Linked DNA regions of Homo sapiens: all the other regions are linked to region 4. The links are contacts of gene promoters, found by promoter capture Hi-C in blood cells and fetal thymus (Javierre and others, 2016). All regions are on one chromosome and are shown on one strand. Each heading gives the region's core, a stretch centred on a gene start or on the middle of the fragment in contact. The rest is flanking DNA. Distances are from core to core; before and after follow the strand shown.

Evidence for each region. Contacts are between HindIII fragments. The CHiCAGO score rates a contact against its expected background, and 5 or more counts as called.
Region 1: a fragment that was not itself captured here is called in contact with the fragment with the promoter of KIF13A in region 4 in 1 of 17 cell types (neutrophils); the score reaches 5.7 in neutrophils.
Region 2: a contact is called between a fragment that was not itself captured here and the fragment with the promoter of KIF13A in region 4, in 2 of 17 cell types (endothelial precursors and megakaryocytes). The highest score is 6.0, in endothelial precursors.
Region 3: a contact is called between a fragment that was not itself captured here and the fragment with the promoter of KIF13A in region 4, in 1 of 17 cell types (neutrophils). The highest score is 7.7, in neutrophils.

Annotation. Positions count from the first base shown.
Region 1 is chr6:18,210,104-18,216,460 of GRCh38, forward strand. KDM1B (lysine demethylase 1B) reads left to right here. Exons shown (of 22, transcript NM_001364614.2): 18 at 2,385-2,501; 19 at 3,553-3,678; 20 at 4,904-5,026. Among named protein-coding and RNA genes, the nearest start is that of DEK, 51 kb to the right of the region's middle. RefSeq lists enhancers at 1,563-1,612, 5,220-5,339 and a silencer at 4,960-5,009. The HindIII fragment of the contact is 4,647 bases long and covers 1-4,330 here.
Region 2 is chr6:17,848,654-17,854,806 of GRCh38, forward strand. KIF13A (kinesin family member 13A) reads right to left here. Exons shown (of 39, transcript NM_022113.6): 7 at 3,302-3,389; 8 at 1,670-1,804; 9 at 724-836. LOC105374953 (a long non-coding RNA gene) reads left to right here and starts at 1,781. Exons shown (of 3, transcript XR_001744007.2): 1 at 1,781-1,868; 2 at 2,322-2,411; 3 at 4,378-4,886. The HindIII fragment of the contact is 3,444 bases long and covers 1-3,436 here.
Region 3 is chr6:18,159,193-18,165,719 of GRCh38, forward strand. It overlaps KDM1B (lysine demethylase 1B), which reads left to right. Exons shown (of 22, transcript NM_001364614.2): 3 at 691-790; 4 at 2,135-2,262; 5 at 3,643-3,732. The coding sequence starts at 704. Among named protein-coding and RNA genes, the nearest start is that of KDM1B, 7.0 kb to the left of the region's middle. The HindIII fragment of the contact is 4,494 bases long and covers 1-3,809 here.
Region 4 is chr6:17,984,435-17,990,882 of GRCh38, forward strand. It overlaps KIF13A (kinesin family member 13A), which reads right to left and starts at 3,201. Exons shown (of 39, transcript NM_022113.6): 1 at 2,975-3,201; 2 at 2,620-2,710. The coding sequence starts at 3,029. RefSeq lists silencers at 2,787-2,906, 3,277-3,776. The HindIII fragment of the contact is 11,131 bases long and covers 1-6,448 here.

The DNA of each region.
Region 1 (6,357 bases), core at 757-3,256, 220 kb after region 4:
TTTAAAACAAATATTTTTATTGTAGCTAGCACGCACCACAGTTTGCATTGGAAGTTTCCCCAAACTTGTAAGAGAATAATTTTCAACCCAACGTGATAGACCGATGAACCTCCAGCAGACTAACTCAGTCTAGGCTGCTTCCATTGACATCTCGCTTTTATTACTTACTAGGATGTGTTTATATCATTTGCCTATTTGTTTACCCAAGGCTTTTCTTTCTTTTTTTTCTCTTTCTTTTCTTTTTTTTTTTTTTTTTTTTTTTTTTTTTTGTTTTACAGGGTCTTATTCTGTTGCCCAAGCTGGAGTGCAGTGGTGCAGCTTGTAGCTCACAGCAGCCTCGAACTCCTGGGCTTGAGCAGTGCTCCCACCTCAGCCTCCTGTGTAACTGGGACCACAAGCACATGCCACCACACTCAGCTAATTAAAAATTTTTTTTTTGTAGAGACAGTGTTTCCCTATGTTGTCCAGGCTGGTCTTGAACTCGTGGTCTTAAGCAATCCTCTTGCCTCAGCCTCCCAAAATGCTGGGATTATAGGTGTGAGCCACTGCACCTGGGCTACTCAAGTTCTTATGCTTTTCAGTGCTATTTTGTCATTAAGAAAACATCTAGATTTGTGGGCGTGGGTGGCTCATGCCTGTAATCACAGCACTTCGGGAGGCTGAGGCGAGAAGATGGCTTGAGGCCAGGAGTTTGAGACCAGCCTGGGCAACATGGTGAGACCCTGTCTCTACCAAACATAAAAAAATTATCTGGGCATCGTGCTGCACACCCATGGTCCCAGCTACTACAAGAAGCTGAGGCAAGAGGATCACTTGAGCACAGGAGTTTGAGGCTGCTGTGAGCTGTGATCATGCCACTGCACTCCAGCCGGGGCAACAGAGCAAGACCCTGTCTCTTTAAAGGGGAAAAAAATCTAGATTTTATTTATTTTCTTGCAATTTAATTGGATAGTAATTGGTTTTTTGTTGTGGTTTGCCTCATTTTTTTTGGTTGCATGGTAATTATCTATAAATAGATTATAAACTTCTTGATGATAGAGAGCATATTTTATACTTTATAAAAATATTTTCATGTGGCAGAAAATAGTGACAAAATCAGAGAACTCTGAACTTCCTGTGATCCTAGAATTGAGAGTTAAGCCAAATATACAAAATCTTTGAAGCCTCAGGTAGATTGGGTGCTTGGTCTTCAACTCCATTCCACTCTGATCCTAGGGTGTCATCCTGTACTGCAGATATTAGAAAGCAAATACACACACTCTTCCCCAACTCCCTACAGCAGGTTTCTAAACATCCATCCAGCCCAGCCAATCTGATGCACTTGCATGAGATGTAGAAGGTGTAGGTTGACTTTCGCTTCCCTTCTGCTGCCTCTGTTGAGAGCACACAATGCTGGAGGTGTTTGGTTCTTCTGCAGCAGGGTTCGTGAAAGTTGCAGGGTTTAGTCAGTAACCACAAGTCAAGAAGGAGGCCGTAAGGCATGCATGTTGCTGGTGCACGTGGTTCTGTATGTGGCATGATTCTGGAGCTGGCAGTAGTAGTAATGGCGTCCTGATTGTAGCAACGATAATGGGGTCTGGAGCCAGAAATGTCCAATTCCCAATGTTTGTGATGTGTTTCACTACTTATGAAGCATATTGATGTATCTTGTAAATTTTAGTTTTAAAGCATCACCCTGATTCTCAGAGGTTAGTGGGGCAGATACTACCTTCATTTTATAGATGTATGGCAGAGATGAGTGGCAGGCTTGGCCACACAGTAGAATGTATTAGGAATGATGCATAAAGTTCTCCTGACTCCATAGTTAGGGCTCTTTCCTCCTCAAGTACTGCTTTTCGGGGTTTTGTTTTTTTTTTTTTTTTGAGACAGTCTCGCTCTGTTGCCCAGGCTGGAGTGTAGTGGCGTGATCTCGGCTCACTGCAAACTCCGCCTTCCAGGTTCAAGAGATTCTCCTGCCTCAGCTTCCCAAGTATCTGGCACTACAGGCACCTGCCACCACACCTGGCTAATTTTTGTATTTTTGTAGAGACAGGGTTTCACCATGTTGGCCAGGCTGGTCTTGAACTCCTGACCTCAGGTGATCCACCCGCCTCGGCCTCTCAAAGTGCTGGGATTACAGGCATGAGCCACCGCACCTGGCCTCTGCTGACTCTTCTTATCTAAGATGATTATTCACCATCAGGACGTTTTTTGCCCACTCTTCCCTGTGGTTGCCACTTCTGCTTAGCCAGGCATTGGCACCCTTGTGCAGTGAGCAACCTGCACAGTTGCACATGGCAGCCCTTGTTCTTGCCAGTATAACAGCATGGGTTGTTGATACCAGTGTAGTGGTAGTGTGAGGTTCTGTTGCTGTTTGTTTGTTAACTGTTAATTATTTTCCACAGGTATTAGTCACTGTACCACTGGCTTTACTACAGAAAGGTGCCATTCAGTTTAATCCACCGTTGTCAGAGAAGAAGATGAAGGCTATCAACAGCTTAGGCGCAGGCATCATTGAAAAGGTGACTGAAATGACCTCATCCTCAGCAAGAAAGAGATTAATGTCAGATGATAGATGTTAACTTCTGATATGGAGAAGTAGTGGGTACTATCTAAATACAAATAAAACTCAAGGATTTCCTTTTCATTTGAGTAATTGTTCGTGAAGAACACAGAAGAATATTATCAAAACGAAAGGAGGAGAGCTGGCTGAGGTCTGTGAGTTTTGACTTTAGGAGAAAGAATCTTGTTATTCACAATTTGAATTTGGTATAAGCAATTCTTTTATCCCCTTTTTTCCCCCCTTCTGCTTTCTTTCTTGTCTGCTTTCCACTCATTGGCCCCAGTGAGGACAGAGGTTTATTTCTCCTGCCTTTAATATCTCCTGTAGCAGAATGGGCCAGTGCTGCAGCAGATTCTGACAGACCTATGAGTAGTGAGAGTTTAACTTAGGGACATACGCCCAGGAGTGAGTCTTAGGAATGCTGGGCATCTTCAGACTAGCTTCTAGGTTGCCAGTGGGTTCCATTATCCATGGGAATGGAACTGAGTGGCATCAAAAGCAAGGAGCTGGGCTGGGCACAGTGGCTCATGCCTGTAATCCCAGCACTTTGGAAGGCTGAGGAGGATGGATTACCTGAGGTCAGGAGTTCAAGACCAGCCTGACCAACATGGTGAAACCTCATCTCTACTAAAAATACAAAATTCGCTGGGCGTGGTGGTGTGCACCTGTAATCCCAGCTACTTGGGATGCTGAGGCAGGAGAATCACTCGAAACCGGAAAGTGGAGGCTGCAGTGAGCCAAGATCGCTCCATTGCACTCCCAGCTGGGCAACAAGAGCGAAACTCCGTCTCAAAAAAAAAAAAAACCCAAAAAACAAAACAAAACAAAAAACAACCAAGGAGTTCACAGGGGGAAAAAAGGAGGTGAGGAGAATGGAAAGAGCGGTATTTGGGGTTGTTCTTTCGGGCAGTGTCTTTGTTTTAGAGTAGAGCTACAGGTTGCTGCTTAGATATTGCCTGTGGTTTTGTGACGACAGACACCTAACCACCTTTCTTCTGCTCACTTTGCAGATTGCCTTGCAATTTCCGTATAGATTTTGGGACAGTAAAGTACAAGGGGCTGACTTTTTTGGTCACGTTCCTCCCAGTGCCAGCAAGCGAGGGCTTTTTGCCGTGTTCTATGACATGGATCCCCAGGTAAAATCATTCGTGAACTGTGGTTTGAATTTCCGTCTTAAAGTTTAGAATTTGATGTGATAATTACTCACCTATCAAGCTCAGGAACTAACGAACATCATGGAGACCCTGGGTCTATGTTTATATTCTGGGAGGACACTTGGACTGGACATTTTCCTATAGGAAAGGAGCCCCAGTATTTGCCATGTCTTCTTAAAGTCCTCATGTTGCTCCCTGGGACATGAATTGGATGCTTGTGGAAACTGTCATTTCAGGCTATGGGGGAATTCCTCTTAGGTGAAGTTGGAGACATCAGAGTCAATGAGTGGTGCTTGAAACTTCCTCTCTGAGGGTCCTCTAGGGAGCTGGGAAAGGGTGTATGATTGGTGAGGGAGGGTGTGAGTGTCAGCAGATGTGAGAGCTGAGGGAAGGAAGGAGAGAGGAGAATGGCATACCCAGAGCTGGACGGGGGTGGTCACTTTCTCTGCCGTCATGTCACTGCCACACGAAAGAATCATGGCTGTTTCTGACTTTCAGTTTCAAGAAACTTTGTCTTAAAAGGTTTCACATAGGAGCCGAGGGCAGATTTTCTTTACCATTTGAGGTTTTTTTATTTTTCATTGTTTTATCTGCAGATTTTCCTTCTCCATCTCTTTCTACTTCTTCCGAAGCAAGCTTTAATTAGTGAACAGCCAAGGGAACCTTAAAGTTGCTATTTACATTTCTTAGTGTTTTTCTTTTCCAGCAGGAAGCAATAGAGTGGATGGATGAATAATGAGTGTTTGCGAGGAAAATGGACTGGCGAGTGACGTGCGGATAAGGGACAGCCAGAAATAGTGACATTTAACTTGTGAGAGTGAGGCTCTTGGCCGGGTACAGTGGCTCACGCCTGTAATCCCAGCACTTTGGGAGGCCGAGGTGGGTGGATCACCTGAGGTCAGGAGTTTGAGACCAGTCTGGCCAACATGGTGAAACCCTGTCTCTACTAAAAATACAAAAGTTAGCCGGGCATGGTGGCAGACGCCTGTAATCCCAGCTACTCTGGAGGCTGAGGCAGGAGAATCACTTGAACCTGGGAGGCAGAGGTTGCAGTGAGCCAAGATTGCACCATTGCACTCCAGCCTGGGTGACAGAGCAAAACTCTGTCTCATTTAAAACAAAACAAAACAAAAAACAAAAAAAAGAGGCCCTTATCTGTGGGAGCTGAGCACTCACAGACCTCCTGCTTTTCCTTTCATGTCTCCAGAAGAAGCACAGCGTGCTGATGTCTGTGATTGCCGGGGAGGCTGTCGCATCCGTGAGGACCCTGGATGACAAACAGGTGCTGCAGCAGTGCATGGCCACGCTCCGGGAGCTGTTCAAGGAGCAGGTGAGAGAGAGGAAGCCCTCCTTGAAAGGGGCAAGCCGTGCTTGCTATCCAGAGCAGGTGTGAAGCCCAAGCAGCCAGCGTCACTGAGAATCACAGGAAGGAAGGCAGAGGCCACAGTCTTCTTTCTTTCAGAGTCCCACTGCCCACCTCAGCACTGAGATTAGTCTGTGAGGGCTGTCATCACAGAGTACCGCAGACTGGCTGCCTTAGACAACAGAAACTTATTCCTCACAGTTCTGGAGGCTGGAAGCCTGAGATCGAGGTGTCGGCAGGGTTGGTTTCTCCTGGGTCCTCTCTGTTTGGCTGGTAGATGCTGTCTTCTCCCTGTGTCCTCACATGGGCTTCCCTCTGTGTGTGTCTGTGTCCTCATCTCCTCTTCTTATGAGGACACAAATCAGATTAGATTAAGGCTCACCCCGGCGACCTCACTTTAAAGTAATTACCCATTGGAGACCATGCGACGAAATACAGTCACATTCTGAGGCACTGAGGGTTAGGGTGTCCACATGGGAATTTGAGGGAGACACGGTTCTGCCTGTAACAGTGCCCTGTACCTTTTTTTACACAATTGTCTTCCTTCCTTTTTTTCTTCTCACATCATACACACTTCCCTTTTTTTTTTTTTTTGTAAGGATATAAAAGGCTCGGTATTTTCTACGTGGATTCTATATTTACTGAAGCCCTAGAAGCTTTGACTACAGCTTTCCTTTTAAGAGGAGCCTTGGCCAGCTTTTTTTAATATCGCACACATGCAGATAGTCTCTTTTCTCCACGGAGCTCAGGATACTTTGTTTGCCAGTGTACTAAATCTCACCATCTCTGGAGATTTGTAAATGGCCATGGCTTATATCTTTTTGAAATAAAGGAGCAGAAATAGAAGTGAAATGACTCAAAAGTTATGTAAGTTAAAGAGAAAGGGGCATTCAGATATGTTGCTTATTTTATTTCATTTTAATTTATTTATTTTTGAGACAGAGTCTCACTCTTTCGCCCAGGCTGGAGTGCAGTGGCACAATCTTGGCTCACTGCAACCTCCACCTCCCGGGTTCAAGCGATTCTCCTGCCTCAGCCTCCCGAGTAGGCTGGGATTATGGGTGTGCTCCACCACACCCAGCTAATTTTTGTATTTTTGGTAGAGACAGGGTTTCACCATGTTTGCCTGGCTGGTCTTGAACTCCTGACCTCAAGTGATCCGCCTACCTCGGCCTCCTAAAGTGCTGGGATTACAGGTGTGAGCCACTGTATGGCCAGCCTTGTTGCTAATTTTATATGAGAGGATCTATCTAATGATGCAATCCCTTGCTTGGGGTTTTTGTTCAGAAGTTTGTTTT
Region 2 (6,153 bases), core at 465-2,964, 140 kb before region 4:
CTCCCAGATTCAAGTAATTCTCACCCCTTGGCCTCCTGAGTAGCTGGGATTACAGACGTGTGCCACCATGCCCAGCTAATTTTTGTGTTTTAGTAGAGAGGGGGTAGAGATGGGTACAAACGGGGTAGAGACCAGGTAGAGAAGGGGTTTTGTCACGTTGCCCAGGCTAGTCTTGAACTCCTTGCCTCAAGTGATCCACTCACCTTGGCCTTCCAAAATGCTGGAATTATAGTTGTGAGCCACCGTACCTAAACAAAATCCTTATACATCCTTTTTTTTCCTTTGAGATAGTCTCACTCTGTTGCCCAAGCTGGAGTGTAGTGGTGCAATCTTGATTCACTGCAACCTCCACCTCCCAAATTCAAGCGATTCTCCTGCATTAGTCTCCCAAGTAGCTGGGGTTACCGGTGTGCGTGACCGTGCCTTTTTAGTAGAGATGGGGTTTTGCCATGTTGGCCAGGCTGGTCTCAAACTCCTGACCTCAGGTGATCTGCCCGCCTTGGCTTCCCAAAGTACTGGGATTACAGGCATGAGCCACCGTGCCTGGCCAAAAACCTCATACATCTTAACAGACACAGGTTGTTGTTGTTTTTCTTCAGCCCAGTTTACTAAAGCTATACAGACTTTAAACAACCTGTACATCAGAACCATCTGACCCTCATAATGCAACAAATCCCCTCCAGAAGGAAATCACCCAGGCTGTTCTGGGACCAGCCACCTTACTTGTTAATGTTGCTGCCTTCTTTCAGTCGCTCTCCTGCAGCTCCTGTTTTAGATACTCTTTCGCTACCCGCCAGGTCTACCAAGCTGACCTTACTGACTTTCTCCCCGGAATTCTAGTTATAGGAAACGAGAGAGAGAAGAAAAACTTATCAATAAAAACCACATGGATATCTACATATATGTTAGCACTATAATTGAGCAATCCATCCCACTCTCATATGGCAAATTTCTTAAGTTTTTAAACGGTCAGAAGAGTTATTTGAACCAGCAATTAATTTCATAGTTAACATTTAAATAGGCGTAGAAATGTAGCATTTTGTTTTGCAGCTGGGTAGCAAGTACACCCAGCTTTCTGGAATACAGTCAGAAAGCTGGAGATTTAAAATGCCTATGAGGAGATATGAGGACATGAGGATTTCTGCACATTCAAGTCAAATCCTTCTTCCTTTGAAAAAAGGTTTAGGCTAAAGGTTGTGGTGTCCTCTTTAATATCCCTCAATGGCTATGAAGCTGACATGTTTCCATGGGAATTTCAGCATGAAAGGATATATATTAAAAGCTGTATGGTGATGTCATCACACTTGTTAGGGACTTTGCACAAGAAATACAATTATTTTTCTTTTTTGTTTTTGTAGAGTCTGGGTGTTGCTATATTGTACAAGATGGTCATGAACTTCTGCCCTCAAGCAATCCTCCCGCCTCAGACTCCCAAAATGCTGGAATTACAGGCAGGAGCCACTGCACCAGGCCAAAATCCAATTTTTTAAAAAGTCAAATATAAAGAAAGACCTAACAAATTAAATGATAAGCAAAGTAGCTCACCTAGTAAGCAGAAGAGCCAACATACAATTCTCAGCCACTGAACCCAACCATGAAAGACTTTACCTATATGGACACTTTCAGTTCTTCCACCCCCACTCCAAAAAGGTTCTGCCTAATCCCTTACCCCAGACTGCAGGTCATAAAGTGTCTGTGTGATTATGATGTTGAACACAGCATGGGAGCGGCTGCTTTCTTCGTTCATGTTGGTAGCAGCTACCGTTCGAGACTTATTTCCCTCAGACATCAATGACTCAATATCCTAGGGGCAAAGCATAAGGAAAAGACCATAAGCAAAAACACAAGAATGTAGTCCTGCACACCAGGTATATGTATTAATTATGATTCCTCTGATGCCTTTGTCACCACCCTTCCATAGAAACCTCCCTGCCGCTCCTCCATTGAGCATGGTTTGAGCTTCCACCTCACTCAAGACTTTGTAATGTATGAAATGTTTCCCTAATTCTTTCCATTTCCCAATTGTCTTCTTTCTCAGTTGAGTCCCTATTTTCTCCTTTTTGGGTTCCTGGGATAGCTAATATTTATTGAGCACTCCGATAATCAATAATAGCAGTGACTTGATTTAACTCTTACTCTCCTGTGCTTACCAACCCGCTGATGCCTGCCTGTCTGCCTCCCTCCTCCAATACTGTGGCTCCCTGATGGCAGGGTTTTTTCCTTATTCCACTTTGTACACTTGCTCCTAGAATGCCTAGAGCCTATGGGATCTTATGAAATATTTGCTAAATGAACTTTATTTTCTTGCTTTTACATACAAGGATGCTGAAGTTCGTGGAGGTCAAGCAACTTTCCCCAAATCCAGTAAGAGGTAGAGCTGGGATGCAAATAGAGCACCCTGGCTCCTACTAGTAAGTGACAGGATAACATCAACACTTACCTCAACCACACTGAGCTAAGAACCAGGGACCTCAGTGAAGGAGCTGAGTTAGCACCTTTAGACCAAAAAAGTATCCATTCATTTCAGAATCGAAACCTTTTTAAAATGATCACTGTGCTCTATTTCCGATTAGAGCAATTCTATATATACCTTGATTTAAATGGCTGGAGAGAATCACTGCACAGATTAGTTTTAGCCATACTAAGTCTGGGGTGATAATGGGCCAGCCACATCCCACAAACAGCACAAAGTAAGTGCAGGGATTTGCTTGTTTCTCTGTGCATTCACTCATTCATTCACATCCTTTAGCAACAGAGATAGCAGTTTGTGTTATGAGATTTCCAAAGCAATCACTATAGAAATAGAAGCAGAATCTTGAGTCAGATCTTAACAAGGCATATAAGTCAAAGAGTAAATAAAGTAAAACAGGCCGGTCAATGGCAAGAGGAGTGATTCAGAAAAACAGGAGAGCCAGAAGTGACAGAAACCAAGGCAGGAGACCCTGCCAAAAAGAAAGGGCTGTACTAACTGCCAAATACTGTTTAGAATACCACATGTCTAGAAGGATGTCACTGGCATCATTGGGAGAACAGTTTTAACAGAGTAGTATTAGTGAAAATATGCAGCAACCTGAAAACACTGGGCCTCCCGGCCATACTGTAAAACCTTCACAACAAAGCAGCTTGAAGAGTGTGATTAAAAGCCCTTTTCCTCTCTGTTTGCGGTGTGCTGATACTGGGTTTCTGAGGCCCTGAGTAGTATCATTCTGCTATAAAGCATCCACATAAAATATACTCAGTATCACTTACATACTTTGATTTATAGTCAGCTTTTAATCACATTTTAAAAAAAATGACTTACCTCAAAACTAGTGACAGCTAGTTGAGATAAACCATCTACATATGGTCCCAAAACTTTATGTTCTCGAACTTTAAGAGACTGTCTACTCCTGCGGGAGGGAGGAAAAAGGAATAAATGAATCACACCAAAGCTGGAAGCTTTTCTTTCTCTTTAAGTACACAGTAACTAAGATAACAATTTCAAAAGAATTTTTAAATGACTCCTCCCCCCAACAAATCTAAAAGCTACTTTATTTGGATTAGCAAAACAATGTTTAACATGAGAAATGTGTTTTATGCTCTGATTTCTATTTAAAGTATGTTACTATTTTAAACATTCTATCTCTAGTCACAAACCTTCCTGGGTTAGGCTGTCAGTTATACTTTGGGGAGGATTGGGGGAAAAAGGGAACCAAAAAACATGCCAGATCAAATCAACCTTTCGGCTATTTCATAAATAAGCATATTCTCAGCAGATAATGTCTTAAAATGGTATTTATTTTTTGAGACAGGGTCTCACTCTGTCGCCCAGGCTAGAGTGCAGTAGCATGACCCCGGCTTACTATAGCCTCAACCTCCCGCCCAGGTGATTCTCCTACCTCAGTCACCCACGCAGCTGGGACTACAGGCCCATGCCACTATGCCTGGCTAGTTTTTATATTTTTTGTAGAGATGTGGCTTCACTATTCTGCCCAAGCTGGTCCTGAATTTCTAGGCTCAAGCAATCCTCCAGCCTCAGCCTCCCAAAATGCTGGGATTGCAGATGTGAGCCACCACCGCCCAGTCAAAATTTTTGAATTACTAGTAGACAGTATTAAAACATTTAAACTCTACTTCAAGTCTGCATTGGTTTATGCTACTTCTATGCTTACACTATTTTATACAGAAAGTGAGATTATAGTACAGAGTTTGTTTATAATTACTGACGTTTGTACTATATTTAGAATTGGTTCTGCTAATGAAAATTTTAAAGCTCTTTTGAATTTTTAAATGATAAACCTGGTTTGGAACCCATTTCAACAGTTTATCAAAAGACAATGGAGATTAAAAGCAAAGCTATGTATATACTGACCATATTGTGCACACCATCTTTTTCAGGGCATCACATATTAATCATCTTTCAAATTAAGAGTCATTGCTTAGCATCACCAATATATGGGAAAAAGGAGCTAAGAAGCATCACTGAATGCATCCCAAAGTCCTGGCATTGTTCCCTGAAGCACTTTTCAGTTATGCCGTTTCATTTCATAACATCCCTACAAAGTAGGCTTTACCACCTTTATTTTAAAGACGAAGAATTCAATGTGACAGTGAGCTACTTAGATGCACACGATCCAGTACACAGCTTACTCTGCTTGCCAGAGATTCTATAATGCTATTCAGCAGCAAGAAAAAGCAAACCTAGCATTATACCAAGTGCCTGTGATGGTGTCCAGTATCTGAAATTCTTGTACACTGCTGGTGGGGGTGGAAATTGGTACAACCACTTTGGATAACAGTTTGCGCAATTAAATAAAATTGGAGATTCAGTATTTTGTGACTTACAATTCCACCCCTAGATGTGTTACCTAGAAACTCCTGCACCTACCTATACAGCAGGAAACCTGTATAACAATGCTTTCAGAGCAGCACTCTATTGATAAAAGCAGGAACCACACAAAAGACAGAGAAAGTGATGAATTATTGATGTAACCATGCAATGAAATGCTAAGACAACAGTAAAAATGTATTAGCACTTCATATATAAGAATAAATGAATCACGGTGGGGGGAACAAATCACCAAAGAACACATATATTATGATGTCATACAAAGTTAAAAATTATGCAAAATTATTTGTAAATGCTAAAGAAGAGGAAGAGAATGCTAAACACAAAATTCACAATAGTAGTTACCTTGGGGAGGGGTAGAAAATGGATCCAAGGGGAACGTATAGTGAGCTTCACAATTATTGGTCATGTTCCATTTATTTATTTATTTATTTATTTAATTTTAGCTAGAGTACTTTTGACTAAGTCATGTTCCATTTATTAAGCCAATGTAGGTAGGCAGTTGTTTTTATTACTCTTTATGCCTTACAGGTGTTATAAATGTTATTTTGTATGCATTAAATAGTTAACAGCTTCTTAAGAGTAAATATAAACATTTTCTTTGATTGGGTCACTTCCTTGTCACTCATAATTTTGGTCAAAATGCACCAAAGTGTAACAGTGGTTATTATTATTGAGATGCAGTCTCACTCTACTGCCCAGGCTGGAATGTGGTGGCATGATCTTGGCTCACTGCAACCTCTGTCTCCTGGGTTCAAGCAATTCTCCTGCCTCAGCCACCTGAGTAGCTGGGATTACAGGTGCCCAGCACCACGCCCAGCTAATTTTTCTATTTTAGTAGAGACGGTGTTTCACCATGTTGACCAGGCTGGTCTCGAACTCCTGACCTCAAGTGATCCACCCACCTTGGCCTCCCAAAATGTTGGAATTACAGGCATGAGCCACTACACCTGGCCTTAGTGATTATTTTTGAATGGTGAGATTATAGGTCATTTTTATTTCTTCTTACACCTTACCTATTTTTCAAATTTTCCATAAATAGATACTAGTTTTAAATCAGTATAATTTTTTTTTTTTTTTTTTTTTTTTTTTGAGCTGGAGTCTCCCTCTGTTCCCCAGGCTGGAGTGCAGTGGCGTGATCTCAACTCACTGCAACCTCTGCCTCCTGGGTTCAAGTGATTCTCCTGCAGCCTCTCAAGAAGCTGGGATTACAGATGCCCATCGCCACACCTGGGTAATTTTTGTATTTTTAGTAGAGATGGGGTTTTGTCATGTTGGTCAGGCTGGTCTCGAACTCCTGACCTCAGATGATCTGCTCACCTTGG
Region 3 (6,527 bases), core at 313-2,812, 170 kb after region 4:
CCTGACCTCATGATCCGCCTGCCTGGGCCTTGCAAAGTGCTGGGATTACAAGCATGAACCACTGTGCCCAGCCATGAGTTTTCTTTTTAAAGTGTAATAAGAGATCAAAGTGCAGGAACTGCTAAGAAGACACAGTAAAATGGAGAGGAACATAGGCAAAACTAGGTGGTTTTCCTCATTGAATTTTATAAACATAGTGTGGTTTGTTTATTGGTCATTCATGTGGCATGTTTCTCATTTTGTATCTTTTAATGTGCATAACTACTAATAGGTAATGTTTATTGAGTACTTACGATATGCCAGTTTTGGTGCTTTAAATAGGTTATCTTGTTTAAACTTCATGCCAGTGCTATAGTAAATGCTTATGGTGCCCATTTTATGTGTGAGAACACTGAGGCTTAGAGAGGTTAAGAACTTGAAAATGGTGGCTTGAGCCAGGTGGTGTGGTGACGTGCACCTGTATTCCCAACTACTTGGAGCTGAGGTGGGAGAATCGCTTGAGCCCAGGAGTTCCAGGCTAGCCTGGGCAACATGGCAAGAATGTCTCAAAAGAAAAGAAAGAAAACTGTAGCTTTGTATTTAGGCAATCTGACATACATTCTTACCTACCAAAGTGTATAATAACTTGCTCCAGACTGTTAAAAATATTTGCAGATGCTAATATTTAATGGTCTGATTTTTCTTTTGCAGATTATTTAATGTAATGGCAACTCCACGGGGGAGGACAAAGAAAAAAGCATCTTTTGATCATTCTCCGGATAGCCTTCCTTTGAGGAGCTCCGGTAGGCAGGTAGTGTTCATTTATTCATTCAACAAGCCTTTTTTGAGCATGCAGAATTACTGATTGGGACTGGAGAATTAGAGTTGAAAAGATTACTCCAGCCCTCAAGTTGCTTGTATTCTAGGGGAGAAATTCTCAGTACGGTCATAACACAGTGTGATAACATGATAGAATATACAAAATAGAAGCATTATCTGGCAGAGGGAACTGTAAGTATAAAGGCGTAGAGTGTGAATCAGCATAGGATGTTCAGAGATTCACGGCTGTGTGGTTGCTTCCAGAGTGTGAGGCTGGGGCCAGATCATGCCTGGCTTGGATGTCATTCATAGGAATTTGGACTTCAGCTTGGAATTGGTTGAATGCTATTGGAGGGTTATGTATAGGGCTTTTTGGGTAGGGCTTTTATTCTTTTAAAAGAAAAAATTGAACAATGTAATTCTTTCTCTATAATTTTTCTAGCTTTTTATTTAAAATAGAGGGGGCCAGGCACGGTGGCTTACACCACCTGCAATCCCAGCACTTTGGGAGTCCGAGGCCGGTGGATCACAAGGTCAGGAGATCCAGACCATTCTGGCTAACATGGTGAAACCCCGTCTCTACTAAATATGCAAAAAATTAGCTGGGTGTGGTGGCGGGCGCCTGTAGTCTCAGCTACTCGGGAGGCTGAGGCAGGAGAATGGCGTGAACCTGGGAGGTGGAGCTTGCAGTGAGCAGAGATGGCGCCACTGCATTGCAGCCTGGGCGACAGAGTGAGACTCTGTCTCAAAAAAAAAAATAGAGGGTATAACTGCTCTAAATAAAGAAAAAACAAATCTCAATTTGGGGAATGACTTTTTTTTTTTTGACTCATGTCACTTTTTTTTTTTTTTTTTTTCCAGACAATCTCCTCTATCCCCCAGGCTGGAGTACAGTGACACAATCGTGTGTGCCACAATGCCTGGTTGATTTTTTTTTATTTTTAGTAGAGAGGAGGTCTCGGTATGTTGCCCAGGCTGGTCTTGGACTCCTGAGCTTAAGTGATCCTTCCACCTCAGCCACCCAAAGTGCTGGGGATTACAGGCATGAGCCACCACACCCAGCTGATGTCACTTTTTTCTAAGAAAGACTCATATGAATTTAGTTCTTTGCTTAGACATCTGTTGTTAAAATGCTATTTCTATATCTCTAGCAAGTTAGTAAATTACTTGCACAATGCAGTCACCAGGAAATTGCTGTATTGTCATCCCTAACCTACTGCCATGATGTTTTTGACCTTCATGTTTAGAACTCAGCTGTGATTTCAGTAGTGAACCTTCATCCTTAGTCATTTTGCCATCATCAGTGAAATTTTAACATCAGCTGTGACTCCCTTAGGCGAAGAAGAAAGCAACAGAGACAACAGATGAGGATGAAGATGGTGGCTCAGAGAAGAAGTACAGGAAATGTGAAAAGGCAGGCTGTACGGCAACATGTCCTGTGTGCTTTGCAAGTGCTTCTGAAAGGTCTGTTTAGATGTGTGTCTTGGCCTCCCATTTCTGCTTGTGAGAAGTTCTTTGTGGAAACATCATCCTTGTAGATAGTTTTCCTAAAGATAGATACAGATACTATAAGTCATCTAATCTAATAATAGAGACATTGCCCAGACATTCTGTACACACCACACCCTCCTCAAGGCCCTCCCTACTTATCCCTAGCCTACTGGGAGAGGCCACACCCATGTCAATTTTGCAACACAGTGTCCTCAAATCCAGCCAACCATATCTACCTCTCCAAGGGTTGAGGGTGGGATGGTGTATGTCGTGGTGAGACAGTAGAGAGAACTCATGAGCTTTCTGTAGACACCAGTGTTTGTTTACTTTTCGTTGTGTTTTTCTCTCTCATATAACATGCCACCTCTTCCCATACGCACATACAGGTCTCATAGAAACTACAGCTAACTGCAGCCTTGCCATTTTTATTGTGGGGTGACACAAGTATGATCTTCTTTTTTTTTTTCTTTTTTACTTCCAGAGGAAAATATTCAATTAAGGGTTAAGGTTCAATAAAATCGAGAAAACAAATCCTATTTGTTTTTAAACACAAAGAGGGCCAGGCATGGTGGCATGCGCCTGTAATCCCAGCACTTTGAGAGACCAAGATGGGCGGATCAGTTGAGGTCAGGAGTTCCAGACCAGCCTGGCCAACATGGTGAAACCCTGTCTCTACTAAAAATACACAAATTAGCTGGGCACGGTGGCAGAAGCCTGTAATCCCAGCCACTCAGGAGGCTGAGGCATGAGAATCGCTTGAACCCAGGAGGCAGAGGTTGCAATGAGCCTGAGATCGTGCCACTGTACTCCAGCCTGAGTGACAGAGCAAGACTCCATCTCAAATAAATAAAAAAATATTAAAAATAAACACAAAGACGTGGTGATCGTGTTCATAGTGGCATGATTTTTCATTCTCTTGCTATATTATCAACTGTTTGACAAGTTATCTTTGCCAAATTGCCTGCTTGATGTTCAGATTTCAGCTGACCAGATTCCCTCGCTGTTCAGTACTGGGCCCCACGTTATTCTCTCATGTCCACATATGCAGCCTGCAGCAAGCACAGTGGCATCTGTCCTTTTGTGTCATAAAACCCTATCATTGCCCCAAGGAGTCTTCTTAAGACTGCTAAGCCCCAGGCAGCCAGCTAGGTTAGGTCCCATGGCCTAAGTCCCTGCATCCTTCCTGTGTGTTATTATCTACTAGTAATCCATTCCTGTTTCCCCTGTCCTTAAGGGGCTAAGTGGAGATAATGCAAAATGGGTTCATAGATGGTGCTTGCAAGATGTTTTTTAAAAAATGGGAGGAGAAATGTTTATTCATTACCAAAGCTATATGTTTTTCACTATTTTCAGATGTGCCAAAAATGGCTACACCTCCCGATGGTATCATCTCTCCTGTGGGGAACATTTCTGTAATGAATGCTTTGACCATTACTACAGAAGGTATGTTCACTAATTGTGTGAGGTTTCCCTGGAGAAGGGGACCGTGGCAGGGGCAGTGCGTGTGGTCAGCTGATTAAAGCTTAGTCTCGAGGCTTACTGAATTATTCAGCTCTTTCAGCCATGCCTGTGATGACTGTAACTTGGACGAGAACTTTGATGTTGTAGTTTGTGTGCATGTTTGTGTGTGTGCACACTCAGGGATCAAAAAATATCTGCCATTTCTTTTTTTTTTTTTTTTGAGGCAAGAGTCTTGCCTAGGCTGGAGTGTAGAGACATAATTTCAGCTTACTGCAACCTCCAACTTCTGGGTTCCTTAATAGAGATGGGGTCTCGCCATGTTGTCCAGGCTGGTCTCAAACTCCTGGGCTCAAAAGATCTGCCTGCCTTGGCCTCCCAAAGTGCTGGGATTACAGGCGTGAGCCACTGCACCCAGCGAAACAGTTATTTCTTGAGTCAAAGTTCTGGAACATCTAGGAGATGTTGATTCTATTTTATTGTTTTCGATTTCATTTGTGCTCTAATTTTTATTTTTTACTTGTGTTTGCTTTAGGTTTAATTTTTTATTTCTCTAGTTTCATAAATTAGTAGCTTCAATTATTTATTTTTAGATCTTTCTTCTTTTCCAATAAATGCGTTTTTAAATGCCATAAATTTCTGTCCAAGTAGGTTGTGATATTTCACAAATTTTGACAACTTTTATTTTAATTTAGTTCAAAATATTTTTAAATTTCCATTGAGTTTTCCTTTTTGATCTATAGATTATTTAGAAGTAAATTGTTTAATTTACAAATATTTGGGACACCTCCAGCAATTTTTCTGTTACTGATTTCTAGTTTAGTTCAGCAATGGTCTGAGAATATACTTTGTATGATTTCTACGTTTTAAATTTGTCAAAGTTTGCTTTATGGCCCGTAATGTAGTGTATCTTGGTAAATGTCCTGCATGCAGTGGAGAAAAATGTGTATTTTGCTATTGTCAGGTGGGTCTATCAGTGTCAACTAGACCAAGTTGATTGATAGTGCAGTTCAGGTCATATATATATATATATACACACACATACATACATCTTTCTGATTTACTCCTACCTGATCTTTCAGTTACTAAGAAAAGTGTCTTAAAGTCTGCAATTATAATTGTCTCTTAACATTTCCAACTATAATGCAGATATGTCTATTTTTCCTTTCAGTTCTATATATTTTTACCTCATGTATTTTTTTTCTTGAGATGGAGTCTCGCTCTGTTGCCCAGGCTGGAGTGCAGTGGTGCGATCTGGACTCACTGTAACTTCCACCTCCTGAGTTCAAGCCATTCTTCTGCCTTAGCCTTCCAAGTAGCTGGGATTACAGGCGTGCACTACCGCACCTGGCTGATTTTTGTATTGTTAATAGAGACAGGACTTCATCATGTTGGTATGGCTGGCCTTGAATTCCTGACCTTGGGTGATCTGCCTGCCTCAGCCTCCCAAAGTGCTGGGATTATAGCACTTTGGTGGTAGCTCGAGCCACCACGCCTGGCCGTCATGTATTTTTAAGCTCTGTTGTTAACATTGTACATCTAACATTGTTGTGGATTCTCTCAAAATTGACCCCTTTGTGTAATATCCCTTGTCTTATCCCTGATAATATTCATTATTCACATAAATATGGCTGCCTCAGCTTTTTTAATGTTAGCATGATACACCTTTCTTTGTTTCTTTACTTTTTACCTTTCTGAGTCTTTGTATTTAGAGTAGGTTTCTTTTCTTTTCTTTTGAGACAGGGTCTTGCTCTGGAGTGCAGTGGCGTGATCTTGGCTCACTGCAACTTCCGCCTCCTGGGTTCAAGTGATTCTCGTGCCTCAGCCTCCTGAGTAGCTGGGATTACAGGTGTGCGCCACCATGCCCAGCTAATTTTTGTATTTTTAGTAGAGGCTGGGTTTCCCCATGTTGGCCAGGCTGGTCTCAAACTCCTGGCCTCATGTGATCCTCCCACCTTGTCCTCCCAAAGTGCTGGGATTACAGGTGTGAGGCTCCATGCCCGGCCTAGAGGAGATTTCTCATTTACACTTATAGTTTTTTTGTAATCCCACTGACAATCTCTTTTAATCTGTATGTTTATGCTATTCATGTTTTAAGTGATTGTTGATATAACTGGATTAAAATATCTTGCTAGCTGTTTTCCATATGGTGCATTTTATTCTTTTTCCCCTTCCTCTGCCTTCTCTGATTTTTTTTTTTTTTTTTTTTTTTGAGACAGAATCTTACTCTGTCCCCCAGGCTGGAGTGCAGTGGCGTAATCTCGGCTCACTGCAAGCTCTGCCTCCCAAGTTCACACCATTCTGCCTCAGCCTCCCAAGTAGCTGGGACTACAGGCACCCGCTACCACACCTGGCTAATTTTTTGTATTTTTAGTAGAGACGGGGTTTCACTGTGTTAGCCAGGATGGTCTCGATCTCCTGACCTGGTGATCTGCCTGCCTTGGCCTCCCAAAGTGCTGGGATTACAGGCGTGAGCCACCGTACCCCGCCGCCTTCTCTGATTTTAATTGAGCATTTTTATGATTGTATTGTATTTCATCTACTGATGTAATTTTTAATGGCTGCCCTAGGATTTACTACATACATTAAAAAAATATTCTAGGCTAGGTGCAGTGGCTCACGCCTATAATCCCAGCACTTTGGAAGGTTGAGGTGGGCAGATCTCTTGAGGTTAGGAGTTCGGGACCAGCCTGGCCAACATGACGAAACCCCATCTCTACTAAAAATACAAAAGTTAGCCAGGCATGGTGGCAGGTGCCTTTAATCCCAGCTATTTGGAG
Region 4 (6,448 bases), core at 1,951-4,450:
CCTGGACCTATGCAATGTATTACAATACTAGAATTTCAGCAACAAAACAAACATCTTTAACCTCAGAGATCCTCTGATCTTTTAGTCCTAGCTACACAGTCTTGGCTTTGGTTTTGTAAAATGGGGAAACAATGAAAGCTGACCCCATCTGTTTTTTTTTTTTTTCCCTGGACGTCAATGCATTCTCACTTGTTTTTACTGGTAAGACTGAAAACTTTCACCCACTAACCTTCAATTTCTATCCATGGCTAATTCATTGGTAATTTCTTGCAACTTTCAGAAAAACAGTAATTCTCAATTTGACACAGGTTTGCCAATATGCATTTAAAGACCTCTTACACTTCAAACCTTGGACTTGCAGATATGAAAAATAATAACATTCTCAGTATTCTACTCTTCACCTTTGCCCTGCCCTGAGCACTATCTAAAAACCAATGACAGAAATGAATTGCAAACATAGCATGAAGCACTGCTGCAATTAATCAACCCAGAGCCCAAGGGAGGAATTGTTTCTATTTTTAAATGCACTGTTACTTTAAGGGAAAAGTCTGTGGAGAAATATGAAACCAAGCTGCATAATGAAAATAAAAATGCATTTGGTGTCTTCATCTGTGCAAAGACAGTAATCCTAATGTACAAGGAGCACTGTTTTGTTGACTACTCAGTTTGTCTGTAAATGAAATGACCGGTACTCAAGACAGAATCCCACAGAAAGCTCATCTGCTATTCAAAGAATTAGATCCGTCAGAAGGACAAAACACGAGAGTACCCATATTTCAATGCTATTTTTATAACTCCAGATAAGGGACTATCGTAAGTAAGCAGATGAATAGATCCCAAAATCACCCTTCAAATCTTTACCTAAAAGATCCTGATTAGTAACTAACGTGGTTCAGCCCGAAAAATGATCAACTGATTACTTAGCATTTGGAACCAACTGTCCACAGTTATAGATTGTACCAAATCCCACAAAATCAAATCTGTTTCTCTTCACAAATGACAACACTTCATGTCATTAAACAGTAGCTAACAGTCGCACTGCTTATGGTTAAGAGTGACAAGGAGCAGGTGCCAAGCCAGCAAGGAAAACAAGTAACGGCTACACAACAGGAGCTAAAAAGTATTCTACCTGTTCCCCCAGACTGCTTTCAAGAATCTGACCCAACAGAATTTTTTCCCGAAACAATATGCAGTTTGCGGGGGGGTGGGGGGAGGGGACATTCGTTGGTGATATGGGCATCTAATTTAATCTGTAAATATTTAATGTACTCAATGAGTTTACTTACTATCACCATGAAATATGCTATACTATCTACACTGCTATAAATGCATCTAAAAATACATCCATTACTAGACAACATTCAGTACAATGTACAATAAACACTACATTCAGTGTTAAACACAACATTTTACATATAGCTTAGCTATTTAATATCACCACCAGAATCTGCTAAAGGTAGCAGAATGTTTGCAAACTGGATAAAAACTGCTATGCTCAACACGAAAAGCAAAGAATCCCCAATCTTATCGCCTCATGATTTCTTTCCCCAAATTTGGCAAAACTGAGCTTGAACACCACACATTATAGAATGGAGGCATTGCTTCTCTAAGCAATAATGTCACAAACCCTGCTTCAGAGTCTCTCTTCAGTGAAAATCTCTGAAGAAGGAAATTCACTAAATTGTATTCCATCGATCAACAGGTGATTCGTGGAAACACAAACTCATATTCATTTCCAATGAAAATTAATATTGTAAACTCTCCCGTTTTTTCACATATATATATTTACAAGCTACTGCATTATTATATTGAATGAATTCCAACCGATTTCTTCTCAGAGGCTTACTAGAAAAATGCCAAATATTCAAATTATTTTGGGGCGTTAACCCATACTGTTGCATGGAACAGAACGGAATTAATAAGGATCCAACAGTTACCACTTTTCAAATGCAAATATGTTGCCATCTAGTAAATACAGCCCCTTTTTAAACATCCCTCAGTGTCTATACAGTTCAGGGCCCTACTTTTGTTTCTTTGAAAATCAAAATTCGCGCATTACATTGAGGCATTATCTCAACTCAGCAACAACAACTAAAATAGATACTAACTAGTCCAGCCTGAGTCTACATCGTACAAGACTTTTGCTTTATTTTTTCCTCCCATTTTAGACACACTGTCCCTAAACAATTCTGCCAAAGGAAACAAACCCTGCAGTGATGAAAAGAATCACGGACACTGGGTTCCACGAACAATAAGGTCGTGGGCTGGTCACCTGCCCGCCTCGGGCCTCAGTTTTCCTGTCTGTAAAATGTGGCCGCTGGACGAATCACCTATGGGGTCCCATCCGGCCCTCTCCCTCCCGGGTGCCTCGCAGCCCGCCCGGGCTCAGCTGACTGGTGCTGTGGCCAGGGTGCCCTGCCTGCCGCCGCTCTAGATGGAGGAGAAGGGGGGCGAGGGAGGAGAGGAACTTGGACTTGCAACAGCTTCAAACAGGAGCCGGCGACAAACTTGAAGCCGTCCTCCTAACAATAGGAAAGAGCACTCCCATTTTCCTGGCTCAAACTTGCGGGACCCCGCGAGGCTGGATCCTCCCAGCCGCCCTCTCGGAACCCGCTTTACCTTTCTCCCTGTTTGGTGTTAGAAGGAGGAGGGTGCAGGACCGTTTGATTCCCTTCCATCTCCACCACGCACTTGGTGTTCAGTTCCAGTTCTGAAAGCAGAGAGAAAGGGACGTTGCAAAGTCCAGCATCCGCGCCTCCAGCCCGCCCGCCCGCCAGCCGCGCCGAGCGGGGCTCCGTCCCTGGAGGCGGCCGAGCCTGGAGACGGCGCCCCGGGCACCACGGCCAGCGCGGACGCCGCCTCCGCCCCGGCCCCCCGGCCCCGGCCGCGCTCTCGCCGTCCCGGCCCCGCAGTTTCTAAAGTTGCCCCCGCCCTCAGCCCGAGCAGAAATAAAAAAGAGCGGAAAGCTCCTCACCTCGTCGGTTCATGGGCCGGACCCGGACGGCAACTTTTACCTTGGTATCCGACATGTTGGCTGCGCTCGCCCGGCCGCTCGCCGCGCCCGCTCGGCCTTAGGCGGCCCCTCACGCGCGGCGCCGCCGCCGCTGCAGCCGCGCGCCCCTCGAGCGCGGCCGCCGCCGCTCCGCCGTGAGCTCCGAGAGGCAGCGCCGAGGCGCGCGGGCCATCCCGGGGGAGCGCGACGCGGGGCACGGCCGCGGCCCGGGGAGGGGCGGGCGCGCGGGGCGGGGCGCGGCGGCGGCGGCGGCGGCGGCGGGCGGGGAGGAGGCCTCGCCGGCGGGCCCAGGCGCAGCTCTAGCCGCGCCGCCCCAGCCGAGACCGCAGCGCCGCGGCCCCTCGCGGCTGCCCGGGGCCCCGCGCCGCCATGTTCCGCGCCCGTCACCCGCCGGGGCTCGGGAGAGGCCGGACACGGCCACGCGCGGCGCCCCCTGGAGCGGCGGGACGGCAGTGAGAGGAGCGGCGAGCAGCGCGGCGCTTAGGGGAGGCTGGAGTCCGGGGCGGGACGCATTGTTTCCCCAGGGGACCTCCCAGGCCAAGCCTGCACCGGCGCCCGCGGGGCCCCCCCCCGGACACCGCCGTGAGCTCGAGCCGCCTTCTGGGGCCGCTGCCACCCGGAGCCCCGGGACGGCAGCAAGGACCACGGCTCGCCGCGCTGGGTGCGCAGGCCTTCCCCTCCGAGTCCCGGCACGCCGCCCCCTCTGTCCCACACGGAGCCTGCAGCGGTATTTTAAGATCTCTGTGGTGAACCGAGACTAGAAATGAATCTGTGAATCCACCACCGAAACAGTGTATGTTTGTAAATAGTGCTCTCCCTTCCTTTCCCGGCCTCTCTTGTCTCGGGAGGGATGTCAAGTGGGCTGGGAGGGCCATTAACTCTTACATAAGAATTTAATAGCAATGGATTCTGTCATCCTGCCAAATGCAGACCTCGCTGCCAGGGCGGAACTGGGCGAATCCGATTTATTCTGTTTGGTTCAACAAGTGCTTAAGGGGCGCTCACCGAGTGCCAGGCATTTTGAAGCGTACAGAAGTCAAAAATCCAGAGTTTAGATCCAGGAATCTTTCGATTTTGCTTAAATCTAGAAATCCACTTATTGGAAGATGCATTGAGGTTTTACTGTGTGCAGGGTGCTGTTGAGGACACACAGAAACATGAATAGCATGATGCAGAGGCACACGCTAAGGTGGAAGAGAGGGCGTGGAGACTTATTATGCTAGACAGTGTACGGCAGGTGCTAGGAGAGGGGTCCGTCCGCCTCCAACCGAGGTGATGCTACGCTTGACCCTCGAACAACACGGGTTTGAACTGCACGAGTCCACTTACACGTGGCTTTTTTTCAACCAAAATCTGATTGAAAATACAGTATTCGTGCTCTGGCACAGTGCCTTACGCCTGTAATCCCAACACTTTGGGAGGCCGAGGCGGGAGGATCACTTGAGGCCAGGAGTTCGAGACCAGCCTGGGCAATGTAAAGAAACCCCATCTTGCCAAACATAAAAATTTAAAAAATAGCCGGGCATGGTGGCAGGTGCCTGTAGTCTTAGTTACTGGAGAGGCTGAGGTGGGAGGATCACTTGAGCCTGGAAGGTTGAGGCTGCAGTGAGCCATGTTCGCACCACTGCACTCCAGCCTAGGCAACAAAGCAAGACCCTGTCTCAAAAAAAAAAAGGGAGAAAAAAGAAAAGACAGTATTTGGCAGGTTCAAAACTGAGAGATCCAACTTTTCCTATTTGTGGGTTCTGCAGAGCTGACTGTGGGACTTGAGTATGCATGGTTTTGGATGTTCCTGGAACCAGTCCCCTGTGTACACTGAAGGACAAATACTTCAGCCCCACCTTATTGTAGAGCCAGCTATCTCAGTCTACCTCTGAAGGGCCTGTTGCATCTTTCCTCCTCTCCATTCCTGCTGCTGCAATCTCACTTTACCTGTCCATTCACTTGTTCAACAAATGTGTTCTGAGCGCCCTACTATGTTACAAACACTGTTGTAGGCTTTAGGCTACAGGCTCTCAGCTGCTGCTCAGAAAGAGGTGAAATTTCCAGCCCTCTGAGGCTAAGAATCTAGGTCTGTGCTTACCTCTTCACTTTTGGGCTGCTGAGACATCCTGTTAACCCTCCTAGCTTTGCCTCCTCTAATCACTCCTAAATCCAGCTTCCAGACTGATTTTTCACAAAATTAAAATTTTATCCTTTAATCGTGCATGGTATTCTATTGTTCAAAAAACTCTCAGGCTGGGCACGGTGGCTCACGCCTGTAATCCCAGCACTTTGGGAGGCCGAGGCTGGCAGATCACCTGAGGTCGGGAGTCCGAGACCAGCCTGACCAACATGGAGAAACCCCGTCTCCACTAAAAATACAAAATTAGCCAGGCGTGATGGCACATGCCTGTAATCCCAGCTACTTGGGAGGCTGAGGCAGGAGAATCGCTTGAACCTGGGAGGCGGAGGTTGCGGTGAGCCAAGATCGCACCGTTGCACTACAGCCTGGGCAACAAGAGCCAAACTCCACCTCAAAAACAAGCAAACAAACAAAAAACCTCTCTGTTTAATATTACCTCCCACCATTCCTGAAATTCTTTATCCAGGACCTTTTCACAAGCAAGATACCATCCCTATGCTAAGCCATTGCTCTGGTAGTTTCTATCAGTGGGAATTGTAGAGGGTTGAATTTGTAACTCCCAAAAAGGTATGTACAAGCCATAACCTCCAGTACCTGTGAATGTGACCTTATTTGGAAACAGGGTCTTGGCAGAAATAAAATTAGGATGAGGCCATACTGGGTTAGGATGGTCCCTAAATCTAATGACTAGTGTCTTTTTTTTTTTTTTTTTTTTTGAGACAGAGTCTCGCTCTGTTGCCCAGGCTGGAGTGCAGTGGCACGATCTCAACTTACTGCAACCTCCACTTCCAGGTTCAAGCGATTCTCCTGCCTCAGCCTCCCAAGTAGCTGGGACTACAGGCATGTGCCGTCATGCCCAGCTAATGTTTGTATTTTTAGTAGAGATGGGGTTTTGCTGTGTTGCCCAGGCTGCTCTCGAACTTCTGACCTCAGGTGATCTGCCCACCTCGGCCTCCCAAAGTGTTGGGATTACAGGTGTGAGCCACCGCACCTGGCCTGACTAGTGTCTTTATTAGAGAAAGGAGAGGGGGATTTGGATACACAGGGAGGAAGACCATGTGAAGACAGAGGCAGAGATTGGAGTGATGCAGCCACAAGCCAAGGAACACCGAGGTTTGCCAGGAGCCACCAGAAGCTAGGAGGAGGAAAGGAAGCCTCCGGAGGAAACACGGCTCTGCTGACACCTTGATTTGGGACTTCTAGCCACCAGAACTCTGAGACACTAAATTTCTGTTGTCTTATGCCACCCATTTCATGGTCATTTGTTACAGTAGTCTTAAGAAACTAATACAGAGGCCAGGCGCAGTGGC